Regions from separate parts of the Homo sapiens genome. Here region 2 is linked to region 1. Evidence: promoter capture Hi-C in 16 types of primary human blood cells and fetal thymus (Javierre and others, 2016). All regions are on one chromosome and are shown on one strand. The core of a region is centred on a gene start or on the middle of the fragment in contact, and the rest is flanking DNA. Distances in the headings are between cores, read along the strand shown.

What was found. The method cuts DNA at HindIII sites, captures the fragments that hold promoters and counts their contacts. A CHiCAGO score of 5 or more calls a contact.
Region 2: a fragment that was not itself captured here is called in contact with the fragment with the promoter of INSYN2A in region 1 in 1 of 17 cell types (megakaryocytes); the score reaches 5.3 in megakaryocytes.

What each region holds. Positions count from the first base shown.
Region 1 is chr10:127,193,687-127,199,770 of GRCh38, forward strand. INSYN2A (inhibitory synaptic factor 2A) reads right to left here and starts at 2,905. Exons shown (of 6, transcript NM_001039762.3): 1 at 2,311-2,905. The region is part of intron 27 of DOCK1 (dedicator of cytokinesis 1); the gene reads left to right. The HindIII fragment of the contact is 7,592 bases long and covers 869-6,084 here.
Region 2 is chr10:126,900,879-126,906,962 of GRCh38, forward strand. It overlaps LOC105378550 (a long non-coding RNA gene), which reads right to left and starts at 4,500. Exons shown (of 2, transcript XR_946449.3): 1 at 3,682-4,500; 2 at 1-3,564. It overlaps DOCK1 (dedicator of cytokinesis 1), which reads left to right and starts at 4,550. Exons shown (of 52, transcript NM_001290223.2): 1 at 4,550-4,685. The coding sequence starts at 4,640. LOC124900289 (a long non-coding RNA gene) reads left to right here and starts at 4,853. Exons shown (of 2, transcript XR_007062336.1): 1 at 4,853-6,084. RefSeq lists an enhancer at 5,571-6,084. The HindIII fragment of the contact is 1,573 bases long and covers 1,423-2,995 here.

The DNA of each region.
Region 1 (6,084 bases), core at 1,655-4,154:
AGTCTTCCTTGTAGATGAATGCCTTTCACGTACAAGTCTTTCTCTTATTTATTGATTTATTTAAAAATTTTTCCCTACAGAGGGAGAAACAAAACACAAAAATTCCCTTTCCTGCCACAGGGGAAAACAACTGTGGCAAAACAGAGAAGCCCCCGAAGTAAACAGAGTAATAGAGTACCCAGCCTCCCATAGAGCTTGCAGAAATCTCATTGTGCAGACATGGAGCTTCCCAGCTTTTGCCTTGTTAGCCTATTTCTTAACCAGTAATTCTGTTTCTTAATAGGATAAAGGGCCTGACTTACATGAAAGCTCAAAGTCTTAATCACAATGATAAAATACAAAGTCGTGGCAACTGTAATAAGTTTAAAGACATATGTAGCTTTTCAAGGACATCTTGTCTTTAAGGAAAAGTCTTTCATTTAGCTAAAGAAATTAAACTGAATTGTTTAGTCTTTTAAACAAAATGATGAATTTAGTGAAGAAAACAAAACTCTCCATGGCTAATGTAATTTATGCAAAATCATGCAATTAGTGATAGCTGTGCTAGACTTTTTCTTTTCCTTAACCAAATGCGCCTCTAATAAAACCATCGTGAGGAGCAGTGCCATCTAATGTAAGTAGTAAACATGGATAGTAAATGATTAATATCTGGTGAGGCATGCAGATGGCAGGACTTCCATTTTTTCTTTGAGCTCCTTGTGCATGTTTGCTAATCATTCTTGCAAAAAAATTGCAAAGATAAATATGAACTTTCAAAAGTAACATTCAACAGGATATGAATGTAAGAAATAGTACAGTGTGGGGGAATAGTAAAAACCAGCACTTTCCGCCTCTGCATAGTGAAATGACGGTAACTTGCTGTAGCGTAAGCTTAATAAGGGTTATATCATTTTCATGTATGTACTACTCTGGGAATGGCCCGGGTCTTGTGAGTGGTATTTTTTCATCAAGTACCCAGCCAGCGCAGTCACTCTGACAGTCCCCCCACTGAGATAAGGCATGGAAAGGTAACCCTCTAGCAAGTCCTCGTTGAGGGGGGAGCGTTCAAGTGCACAGACGTCTACCCTGTGCTATCCTGAGCTGTAGTCTTCTGAAATGATCGTTTGGCTTCCCAGCCAAGGCAGGGCTCCCCCAAAGTTCATTCCCACTCTTGCAGTTTCACCTCGGGATGCTTCCGCAGAATTTCAGCGCCTAAGCAGACAAGGTCAAAGTAAACCGCTTCACCGCTGCTTCTGGCGCAGGGGCCCAGAGCGCGTGCAGCTCCCCAGCACAGACCAACAGCAGGAGAGGGGTCCGGGCGGGAGCCCTGGGCTGTAGATAAGCAAAACGCACCCATTTTCTCTCCTATTTACTCCAGAGGCACCTCTCCTCCCCCACTCCTGGCATCTCTTTATCACTGGCTCCCTCTCCCTGTGGCATATTTTTGGGTAGTAGAATGCTGAGGTCACAGGGAGCGGCTCTTTATCCAAGCAGTGGGGACATCAGCCTGGAGCCCTGAGCATGAACCAGCAAGATGCAGACTCTCGCTCTTGACTTTGGGCTCCAGGAGCTGCCCCGACCCCGGGCTGCCCGCGGGCTCCCTCCTCCCTCCTGCCCTCGCCCGCCAGCTCGCAGTCTCTTAGGTCTGCAGCGTTGGTTGGTTTCCCACGCCTGTCCCGGTCTGACTCGGGCTGCCAGGCACCGGGAAGCCCCGCGGCGCCGACCCCAACCCGCAGCCCCGGGAAGGTGCCAACCCCAGCGAGTGGAGGAGACGAGCATTTCACGTGGGCATCTGCCTTCACTGCTGCTCGCGCCTCTCCTCAACGGCCGGCGTCAGGGCCCCTCTGTTCCAACTCATCCCCCCCCCGAAGTTAATCAGCCGTACTTGTACTTTCCAGGGCGCTTTAGTTTGGAAAATACTTAAAAGCCTCGAAACCTTCCGGGGAGACGGCCGCCCCCAGATCTCCCAGTTTTGCCTGGCTAGGGCTGTCGGGCGCTCACGAAGCTGTGGCGTCTGTCTGGAACCCACATCGCAGAGGCGCAGCCCCGCTCCTCCCTGACGTCGCCAAAGTTGCCAGACGCCCCTCAGCGACCCGGTCGCGCCAGATGCAGTTGCATAACCTTGCCCCCCACCTGCGACCGCACCGGGTCCGCTCCCGGCTGCACCGGGGTGTCCCGGCCCCGGGAGCCGCCGAGTTTCCGGCCAAGCCGGTTTGGGGCCGAGTGTGTGCGCCCGAATCGGGGTCGGCGCCCGTCCCAGCGGTGCTCTGCCCGCGGCCAAGTACGACGGGCGCGGGGGCGCGGGAGGAGGGCACGCGGGGCTCCGCTTACCTTCCGCTGCTTACAGATAAGTCGAGGTCGATGCAGCGCCTGGCTCGGGCATGTCTCGCTGCGGACCCTGGCAAGCCTGGGGCGGCACGGAGCACTCCGGACAGGGCATCCGCGGCCAGACTCGCCGCGCTCACGCGGAGGAAGCCTCGGCTCCGGGGACTTGGCCCGCTGCGCGCCTGCTGCCCGCCCCCTCCACCGCTGCCGGCCCGGCCCTGCTGGCCCGGCCGGCCCCCGCGCCGCAGCTCGCGTCGCTCGCGTCCCTCCGGCCCCGCTTAGCGACGCGCGCGGGGAGGCAGCGGCTGGGCCAGCTCCGGGGACGCCCGCGCGCTCGCTTGCTCGCGACGCGGCGGAGCCAGCCACAGCCACCCGGCTTCGCGCTCCTCCGATGTCCTCATTTACTGCAATTGTCTTCGGCGAGATCTCAGAGCCAGGGCCAGGAGGCGGGGGCGGGGCAGAGGAGGGAGCAGGAGGGAAGTCCTTTCCGCTGCTCCAGGTCCCAGCTACTCCGCGGAGCCGGGCGGCCAGAGGCGAGGGCGCCCCAAGCCGCGCGCCTGCCGCCTGTGCGCCCGGCTGGCACCGAGGCGGGCGGAGCCCCGGGCCCCGCGGGGCGGAGGTGGGGCGGGGGCGGCGCGGGGCCGGGCCGGGCCGGGCCGCGTGCGTGGGGTGGGGGATAGGGAGGGAGTGGAGGAGCCCCCTCCCGCCGCCGCCAGAGCTGGAGGAGGAGGAGGAAGAGGAGGAGGAGGTGGAAGGAGCTGCCGCCGGCTGCCGCCGGCTGCCGCCTGCGCGCGGGGCTCCGCCACAGCGCGTCCTCCGGGTTTCTGGGCTGCAGGCGGCGCTGCATGGCCCGGGAACTTGTTGAGTCTACCCTGGAGCCGCCTCCGGAGCAGCTGGCGGGCGGGGGACTCCGTGTGTTCTCTCAGGGATGGGGGGTCGCTGGGGACCCTGCTGCATGACTGTCTGCTGTGCCAGCCAGCCTGGCCCGGCGGGGCTTTGGGAAGCCAGGCTTGAAGGGTGCGTGTCTTGTAGGTGCCTGGCCGCTCACCTGCGGATGCTGCCTTGTAGAAGCAGGAGTTCGGGGATCCTTTCAGTGCTGGCTCCAACCTGGTGTCAGCCTCTCTACATGGGGACAGGAGGTCCTATGAGTGGCCTGAGGACTGAAGTGGGAGGGCCTGCCTGGTAATGTTGCATGCTGACATTTAGGGACACTCCAGAGCAGGCGCCACTGCCACTCCTAGCCAGGAACCCTACCCCCCATCCAGAGCACACACCACCCGTCAGCAGAAGCCACAGGGCGCAGAGGCTGAGTTCCTTTGTGGCAGAGTAGAATTCTCTTGGGAGAGGAAAAGACCTAGGATGCACACGGAGCTATCCCCGCCCTTAATTTCCCACCCACCAAAGAGTATTGGGTGTTTTGAGCTCAGAGCAGCAGACCCAGGGGCCCCTCTGATGCCTGTCAGGCCCTGGGGTCTGGGCCAGGGACTAAGCAGCCAGCCGAGTGCAGGGCTCCTGGCCCCCTGGATTTGCTCCTAGAATGTAATGTAAAATGTAAGTAGCCACATTTATTAGTCTGTTTCTCAGGAAAGGTCAGAGAAGTAGTGGACCCCAGGGAAGGGACAGGCTTCGGAGAGGAAATTGGGAGGACAAATGGAAAGTCCCTTCACCCACCCACCTCTCCAGACACATCAGTGGGCAGTGAGACCTCTTTGCCTATACATCCCTGAGTCTCTGCACCTAGCACCAGCTCTGTGCCTGTGACCAAGCCATAGCTCCATCCTTGTTCGCTGAGCTGAACTGAGCCTATCACTGCCTTATAGAGTGTCTGTTTTTTATAAATGACTTTATACGAAATACCTTCTTTGTATGTGGATGCTTTGGGCAGTGTGTCCAGACATTTCAGAAGAAAAAAAAATCTAAAATGTCATCTATTTCCCTCTTTACCCCGCAGCATCCTTTGGTATACAATTTTGCCAGCCTTGGGGATCCAGATATGCCCAGGACGGGAGTCCTGAGCCTGTGGATCCAAACTCTGCCCACCTCACTCTTCTTGTTGTTCTTCTTAACTCAGATCCCCCAAGCTGATTTTCCAGCTTACCAGGGAGGCTGTTGGGAGCTGGCTGGAAAGAGATGCTTAATTTTGTGTGAGCAGTATGGAAACTGCAGTCCCCTCTTCTGCCTGGAAGGGGCCTGGGAAGGGAATGTATAGGAGTTGGGGACGTTTAAAACCAGATAGGAGAAGTTGCCACTCTCCAGCATGTTCCCTTGGGGATGTGCTGTTGCAGCTGTGGGCTCCAGTAATTTTCCCAGTGGTCTGGGGAACTTCTGTAAATCTTACTTTATTGGCAATCCATAAAATTGAAATCTGCCTTCCGTCTTTTAAAGTGACTGTAAATAAAGCTGCCAGGAAACTTGGGCATTGGGCTGGTAGTATCAGAAGGCTGAAGTTTTCCGGGACCAAGAGTGAAAACAGGTCAACATAAATGCATGCCCAGCAAGGCAGTGCTCAGCCACAGGTGGCACTGTGAACTGGCAAGAAAACAGCTCCAAGGACAGTGCTATCTGAGATTCGCATGATGTATAACTCCAGGAAGAAAATGGAAAGCCGTAATTGGCAGGTTAGAAAATCCACTTACATGAAGAGGAGAGTATAACGGAATTCTGTAGCATCATCAGGACTGCTTAGAGTTGTTCAATTGTGTAGTAGACTTACAGTTGTTTTGCTAAGTCTATTAAAATCATTGGCATCGCTTCTTTTTTTTTTTTTTGAAGTAGGAAACCATTTACATATTGTAGTGCTTAAGTGCATGTCTTCAGCATCACAAATCAAAATATTGGTGAAAACTTGCCTCACCTTACCTTTGGCTCTGGAGAGATATTCCACATGGGTGAGGTGTGTGTCATCATGCTCCAGGCTTTAAAGCAAGCATCATGCTGGGGGCTGGCTGGAGAGAAGGGAGTTTCAGCCATCTTCCTGCCCACAGATCCCTCTTGCATTTTTTTTTAATAGATGGGATGTAGGCATATTTTTAGGGTCTAGAATGAGTCAATATGCTCGGCTTCCTCAGGAAAAAAAAAAAGTGAAACTTGATAGATTCATTTTAGGAATCAATTGGTATTGGCTTTTTATATTTTGCTTAAGATTTTTGTTGAAAAAGATAGACTTGCAAAGGAGAAAATAGCTACTTTTCAAGTGGGATTTCCTAAAAGCAGAGGAATAAAAATAAGGGAAAGTTCAAGACGGCTAACTAAGCAAAATATCCACGTCTCTCTTCTTTTGCCTTCTTCTTGGAATTGTGCAGGGGTTGTACAGAGAATTGCTGGAATTCCACCCCTATGGTATAGTGAGTTTGAGGTCTCAATTTCCACATTAAAAAGTCAAGAATATACAAGTCAAACATGTTCAAGAATGTTCATAACAGGTTTATCTATATCTGTTCCAAACGGGAAATAATCCAAATACCAGTCAACAGTAGATAAAGATTTCTTGGTTCTTCGTATAGTGGAATACTAGACAGCAACCCAAAAGCACTAACTGCTGATGCATGCTTTGGCATGGAGGGCTTCTACAAAGGTGCAGAACAAAGGAAGCCAGACGCCCAGTGTTTATGACATGATTCCCTTTAGATGAAGTCCAAGAATGCGACAAAGTTATCAATGGTGGAAAATATCAGAATGGGGATTACCTTTGAGGCATACTCGTTGCCCGGGACCACAGCAACTTCACTGGTGCTGGATCATTCTGTCTCCTGCACTAGTTGCTTATGCAGTTTTCCACCT
Region 2 (6,084 bases), core at 959-3,458, 290 kb before region 1:
AGTCCATAGTTCAAACCACCTCTTGCCCTTGACATTTTTTTAGTGTTGGATAATTAAAGCAGTTTCCAATTAAGGATAACACAGTGCATTTAAATGTTGTATTTCTTTTCTTTTCTTTTTTTGAGATGGAGTCTTGCTCTGTCACCCAGGCTGGAGTGCAGTGGCGCGATCTCGGCTCACTGCAAGCTCCGCCTCCCGGGTTCACGCCATTCTCCTGCCTCAACCTCCTGAGTAGCTGGGACTACAGGTGCATGCCACCATGCCCGGCTAATTTTTTCTATTTTTAGTAGAGACGGGGTTTCACCATGTTAGCCAGGATGGTCTCGATCTCCTGACCTCATGATCCGCCCACCTCGGCCTACCTAAGTGCTGGGATGACAGGCGTGAGCCACCGCGCCCGGCCAAATGTTGTATTTCTTACATCTTTTAAAATCTAGAACAGCTCTTCTCCACTGGCCCCTTCTTGCTCTATAATATTGACTATTGAAGAGACCAGACTACTACCTGAAAGAATATTCTACCTTCTGGCTTTGTTTCAGTGTCTTTTTTTTTTTTTTTTGAGATGGAGTTTCACTCTTGTTCCCCCAGGCTGGAGTGCAATGGCACGATCTCTGTTCACTGCAACCTCGGCCTCCCGGGTTCCAGTGCTTCTCATGCCTCAGCCTCTTGAGTAGCTGGGATTACAGGTGCCTGCCACCATGCCCAGATATTTTTTTTTAGTAGAGATGGGGTTTCACCACGTTGGCCAGACTAGTCTTGAACTCCTGACCTCAGGTGATCTGCCCATCTCGGCCTCCCAAAGTGCTCAGAGTTACAGGCATGAGCCACGGTGCCTGGCCTGTTTCACTGTATTTCTTATGGTGTCACTTGTTCCTCAACCTCCTCTATTTCCTGTAAGCACGAAGTTGGGTCTAAAGTCTTGAATATACACTTTTGGGCTGGGTGGCATTGTGCATTGTGACTACATGCCTGGTCATCCAGTATGATGCCCAGATCTCCCACTGAATCCAAGAGGCAGTGGGCATAGGCCTTGTTCCTCTCCTTTCAAAGGGCAAAAAATCTGTGGTCAGGCCCCTTTTCCTGCATAAAATCTCCACATCCCTGTTCCATTCTCATCTCTCCCCACCGACTGAGAAACATGCCCCATTGACTCACTGTGCCTTCTGGTACCTCCACCAGGCAAGATTTTGCTGAATTTACCTCCTGAATTTGCAGTGCACATGTGTGAAATTTTTTGGAATTAAAAAAATTAAAACTGTACTTTTCAAGATTTAAAACTGTAATATTGATTGTGTTCTTCATGGCCCCAAAGCAAGATTCTGTTGTATCTTGGAGGAGGGGGGTCACTACTCTGAAATCCCAGTGATGGGCAGCACTGAGCAACTGAGAGCCTCAGCATTCTTGGGCTTGTTCACACCCACAAGCTTGGCACAGATCCAAGTCCTGCAAGATGCCTGGGAGGGCAACTGAGACCTGTGGCCCAGCCACATTGACTCAGGAGGTAAAAATGTCAACAGGCCACAACCTCCAGGGCTCCTGGAATTGGAGACGAAGCCAGTTCTGAGCTTATGCAACCATAGGACAGTGAGAGAGGGCCATGGACTCGATTTAGAGCCACAAGATGAGAGCACTGCTGGAGCACCGTGGGGATGCTGACAAATCTTCTCAGGGCTTCAAGGACCGTGGCTACAGGTACATCTCAGCCAAACTTGGGCACATGTTGCAATCAAGGGACTGAAGCTACAACCACCTGGCCCGTGGTCCACCTGGAGTTTTGTTTTGTTTGTTTTTGAGATGGAGTCTCACTCTGTCACCCAGGCAGGAGTGCAGCGGTGCGATCTTGCTTCACTGCAATCTCCACCTCCTGGGTTCAAACAATTCTCCTGCCTCAGCCTCCTGAGTAGCTGGGACTACAGGTATGCGCACCCACGCCCAGCTAATTTTTGTATTTTTAGTACAGACAGGGTTTCTACTAAAACCCTGGTTGGCCAGGCTGACCTCGAGCTCCTGACCTCAAGTGATCTGCCTGCCTCAGCCTCCCAAAATGCTGGCTGGGATTACAAGCATGGGCCACTGTGCCCGGCCCCACCTGGAGTTTTAAAATTCTGATTTATAAATTTATTATATGACAGTCTACCAAAAGTATGCAAATCCGGCACTACACTTATTTATGCATTCAGTGAGTCACCTTTATCTGAGTGCAAGTGGCAACTGTTCTAGAAAATGGGAACCATGAGGTTATCAAAGAACCTGGAGGTAGGGTCAGATGAGGAAGCACATCATTATGATGTCTTACACATGCAGTCATGTCTCCTCTTATAATCCTAAGACTCACCTGTGAGATTCCTATTACAGCCCCTAGTTTACATGTAGGAATATCAGAACCCCAAGGTTTAGAAACAGAACGGCCAGAAACAGGAGGAGGATGGCCATGCAGCTGGGCGTGGCAAGGCCAGGCCTCCCAAGTCTGCATGACTCTTAAGCTCCTGGCCATTCGTTACAGCACGCCATCTCCAATGCAGAATCACACCAACAGAACTGAAACTGCACATTAAAGAGAAGGCGAGTGTCACCAAAATCTGTTTCCCAGGCTTCTTTGCAGAATTCCAAATTCCTAGCACGACCAATAAGGCCCTTCTTCTACCTCTGCAGCCTCAATTTATGTCACTTTCCTGTTGTTCCCTATGCTTCGGCCATCCTGGCCTTTCTGTGCTCTGAAGGAGTGGTGCTCCTTCCTAAACCAGGGCCTTTTCACGTGCTGTTCCCACTCCAGTTCACCTAGCTGGTTTCTGCTTATCCTTAAAGTCTGGGTTTATCTTATTTCCTCAAGGGAGGCCTCCCTGCTCTGGAGCAGGTCAGGCCACCATGTCCTTTACCGTAGAGCACCCTACTTGTCCTGGACAGCACCTTCACAGATGCTTCTCCTTCAAGGGGTCAGAGTCACCAGGCCACCACTACAGCGCCTGAGCCCCGGAGGTTTCTGATTTCCACAGAAAGCTTCAAGTGCATGCTGTGTGTGAGTGAGCCTGGCCACTTCCTCTGTGGGACTTCAGTTCCTTATCAGTAAAACAGAGCCCGTGGCTTTCCATGAATGTGGGGTTGACTTACCAGAATGCTCAGGTCCCACGTTATCCTCTTGAACGCAGCAGCTTTCCTCTAACCCACGAAAATGGAAAAGCTCCTGTGCCATTCCCAAATACTTATTTAATCTGCATTCTGGGTGGCCCCTAGGGCAGGTGACGGGCATTCTCTACCGCAGGATGGTGCCCCACCTGGTCCTCCCCAGGCCCTGTGGCCATCCTGGCCACCTCCCTGTGGGCTCTCCCAGCCCTGCTGTTCAGCACTGTCCCTACCTCACAGAGGTAGGGACCTCTTTTTCTTACCTTCTTCCTTTTCTTACCTTCGTTCCTCCAATCCCTGACGGCCCCCAGACCTACTGTAGTTGTCTCTGTGTCTTCGGAGAGAAGACACCCCATTAATGTGCCATGAAACCAAATTTATTCCATTTAAAGGGCTGCCTTCATTCGGAGGCTTTGTCCATGTCTTGGTTTTAACCTCTCTTTTCTGAAATTACAGTAAAAATAAATAGGTGTGTGTTGCTTTAACTTTTCCCTTGGAGAAATCTGAAGCCCCCACCTTTTACTGTCATGGGAAACACCAGGGCCTGAGAAGAACTCCCACCTCGGGCGAGGATGCCGTTCCTGAGCCCCACGCGTGGCCTGGGCTTTCCTTTCCCTACTTCTCTCTTCCCCCGACTTCAGCAGATCCTGAGTCCCACAACTATTCTAGCATTAGCTTCTGCAAGCCCAGCTGGGCTGAGGTTTCTGCGGCTGCTTCCTCTTGGTCTCTCTGGAAAACTCCACTCATTCAGCACCCAAGCAAGAGGTCACCTGTCTGGAACGCACTCCCTCGGCAGCGCTGTGCCACCTCTTTCCACCCCATTTGAGTGGCCGGCACTTACCTGTGCTGTTTGTTACCTGACGTGTCCCTTCTCCCACCTACCAGGCAGTTGGTGCGGCGCTCCCAGCACACTCGGGCAATGAGTGGGCAGGCGCTCAGGTAACGTTTGTCGAATGAATGAATGAGCCACGTGCTCAGGAGGACCCTTTCCAGAGCCTCTGCTGGTTTGTTCTGCTCCGGGACTCTCCACCAGGGAGAAATCCGAGCTGGGGACCTCGCACCACCAGGCTCCGGCCTAAGCCCGCGCCTTGCAAGCCGCCCGTTTCCTACCTCCCGTAGAAACCCCCCGTCCGTCCCGCCCCCCTAAGGGCGCACCCCTCTCACGGCGTGAGCGCCAGCCCCGGGAGCTCCAGGAACTCAGGAGAACCCCGCGGGGGTGCCCGGGTGCGGAGCGCGGGGCTGGGCGCACTGGGACAGAGGAAGGGGAGCCCCGGCGACCGCGGGGTCGGGGCCCAGGGTCCGCGCCGAGGGCGGGCGCAGAGCCCGCGGCCGTCCCGCCTCCCGCCGGCGCTCCCGGCCTTTCCCATCCGGCCCGCGACGCTCCGCCCGCCCCGTCCCACATGACGCCGCCTCCGCCGCAAACTTTTTCCTCCCCATCCTGTCGCGGCTCGAAAGGAATGGAAAATGGCGGCCTAGACGCGGAGTTTCCTGCCCGACCCGCGGCGGCTCCGGCGGCGCCATGACGCGCTGGGTGCCCACCAAGCGCGAGGAGAAGTACGGCGTGGGTGAGCAGCGCCGCCGCCGCCGCGCCTCTCGCCCCAAGCCCAGGCTCCGGCGGGGCGGGTGTGCCGGGCGCCTGTTGCCGCCGCCCCGAGCGGCCGCCGGGCCGGGGAGAGGCGCTTCCGCCCGCGCCCGCGCCGCCGCCCCGCTCGCAATGCCCGGCGACCCCGGCCGCCCCGCGCCCCCGGCGGCGTCAGCTCCAGCCCCGGGGATGCGGGTCGGGAACACGAGGGGGTGGGGTGGGAATGGGGGCGGGCGCGTCCCTCCCTAGGGTGTCCCCTCCGACGCCCGCTCCTCTGGACCTCTGCCGTGGAGCCCCCCGGGCTACCCCCAACTCCCCGGCCCCGGCCGCTGCTATCTGCGCGGCTGGGCCCGTCAGGGAAGCCCAGGGGTCACTGTCTCGCGGCGGCTTCTGCTTCTTGGATGAACTTGCGTCCCGCGTCCGGGCTCTGGGTGGGCGGGCTCAGGTCGGCGCGGTCCCAGCGGATAATTCCGCCCTTTCCCGGCGGGGAGGAGGGGGCGCGACCTGGGTGGCCAGCGCCCCTTGCCCCTCGGCGGTCTCGCTGGGGACCGTGTGGGACCTTGGAGAGAAGGCGAGCGGCCGAGCGCCCCAGTGGCCCCAGGCCTGGAGACCCTTCCGGGAGAGCGGGGGCCTGTTTTTGCTCCGCGGCTCTTTGTCGCTTCCGAGGGGGGATGGAAGGAGTCGGGTTGCAAGTTTACATTTCGGACCCGAGTGCGCATTCCTGAGAGGGAGGCTTTCCCTTGCGGCTGAATAGACGGGCCCGTCCGCGTGGGACCCGCATCCTTGCGCCCCGGGGACCCGCAGCCGGTCGCCGAGGCCTGCGGACGCCCACCTCTTCGTGATCTGCGCGCCTGGTGTCGGGACTGGGCCGTGGCTACTCTCCTGCTCTCCCGGGTCCGGGATCTTCCCAGTTGGTTTTCGGGCTTGCTATTCCCCGTCCCACCATCCACAGACATCCTTGACCGCCTGCCTCATCCAGGCCACTCGACCCGACTGGGAAGACCTTTGGTGGTCTCGCCTCCCACAGCCCAGGCTGTGTCCTCCAAGGGCACCGTCTCAGCAGCAGCCCCGCGCCCATTCTGTGCCTGGCCCGTGCTGGACCTGCCCGACCCTCTGCTGGTGTGGTTCGAATCCTGGCTCTCTGACTTTTGGGAAGCGCCCTGGCAGCCCTTGTCCCCGGAGCGCTCTCCTTTCTGTGAACAGTTGCTTCTCTCTGCTGTCAATGACTTACAGTATGCCCTGACCACGGAGCCAGCTGGACAGTGGTCACGGGGACAGTCCTGGGACAGCCCTGGGTCCTACCGGGCCTGCACTTAGCTTGTTCCACATGCTGGGAGGCATAGGGGGCCTCCTTGCTTCAGGACCATTATGACTGAGCTTCC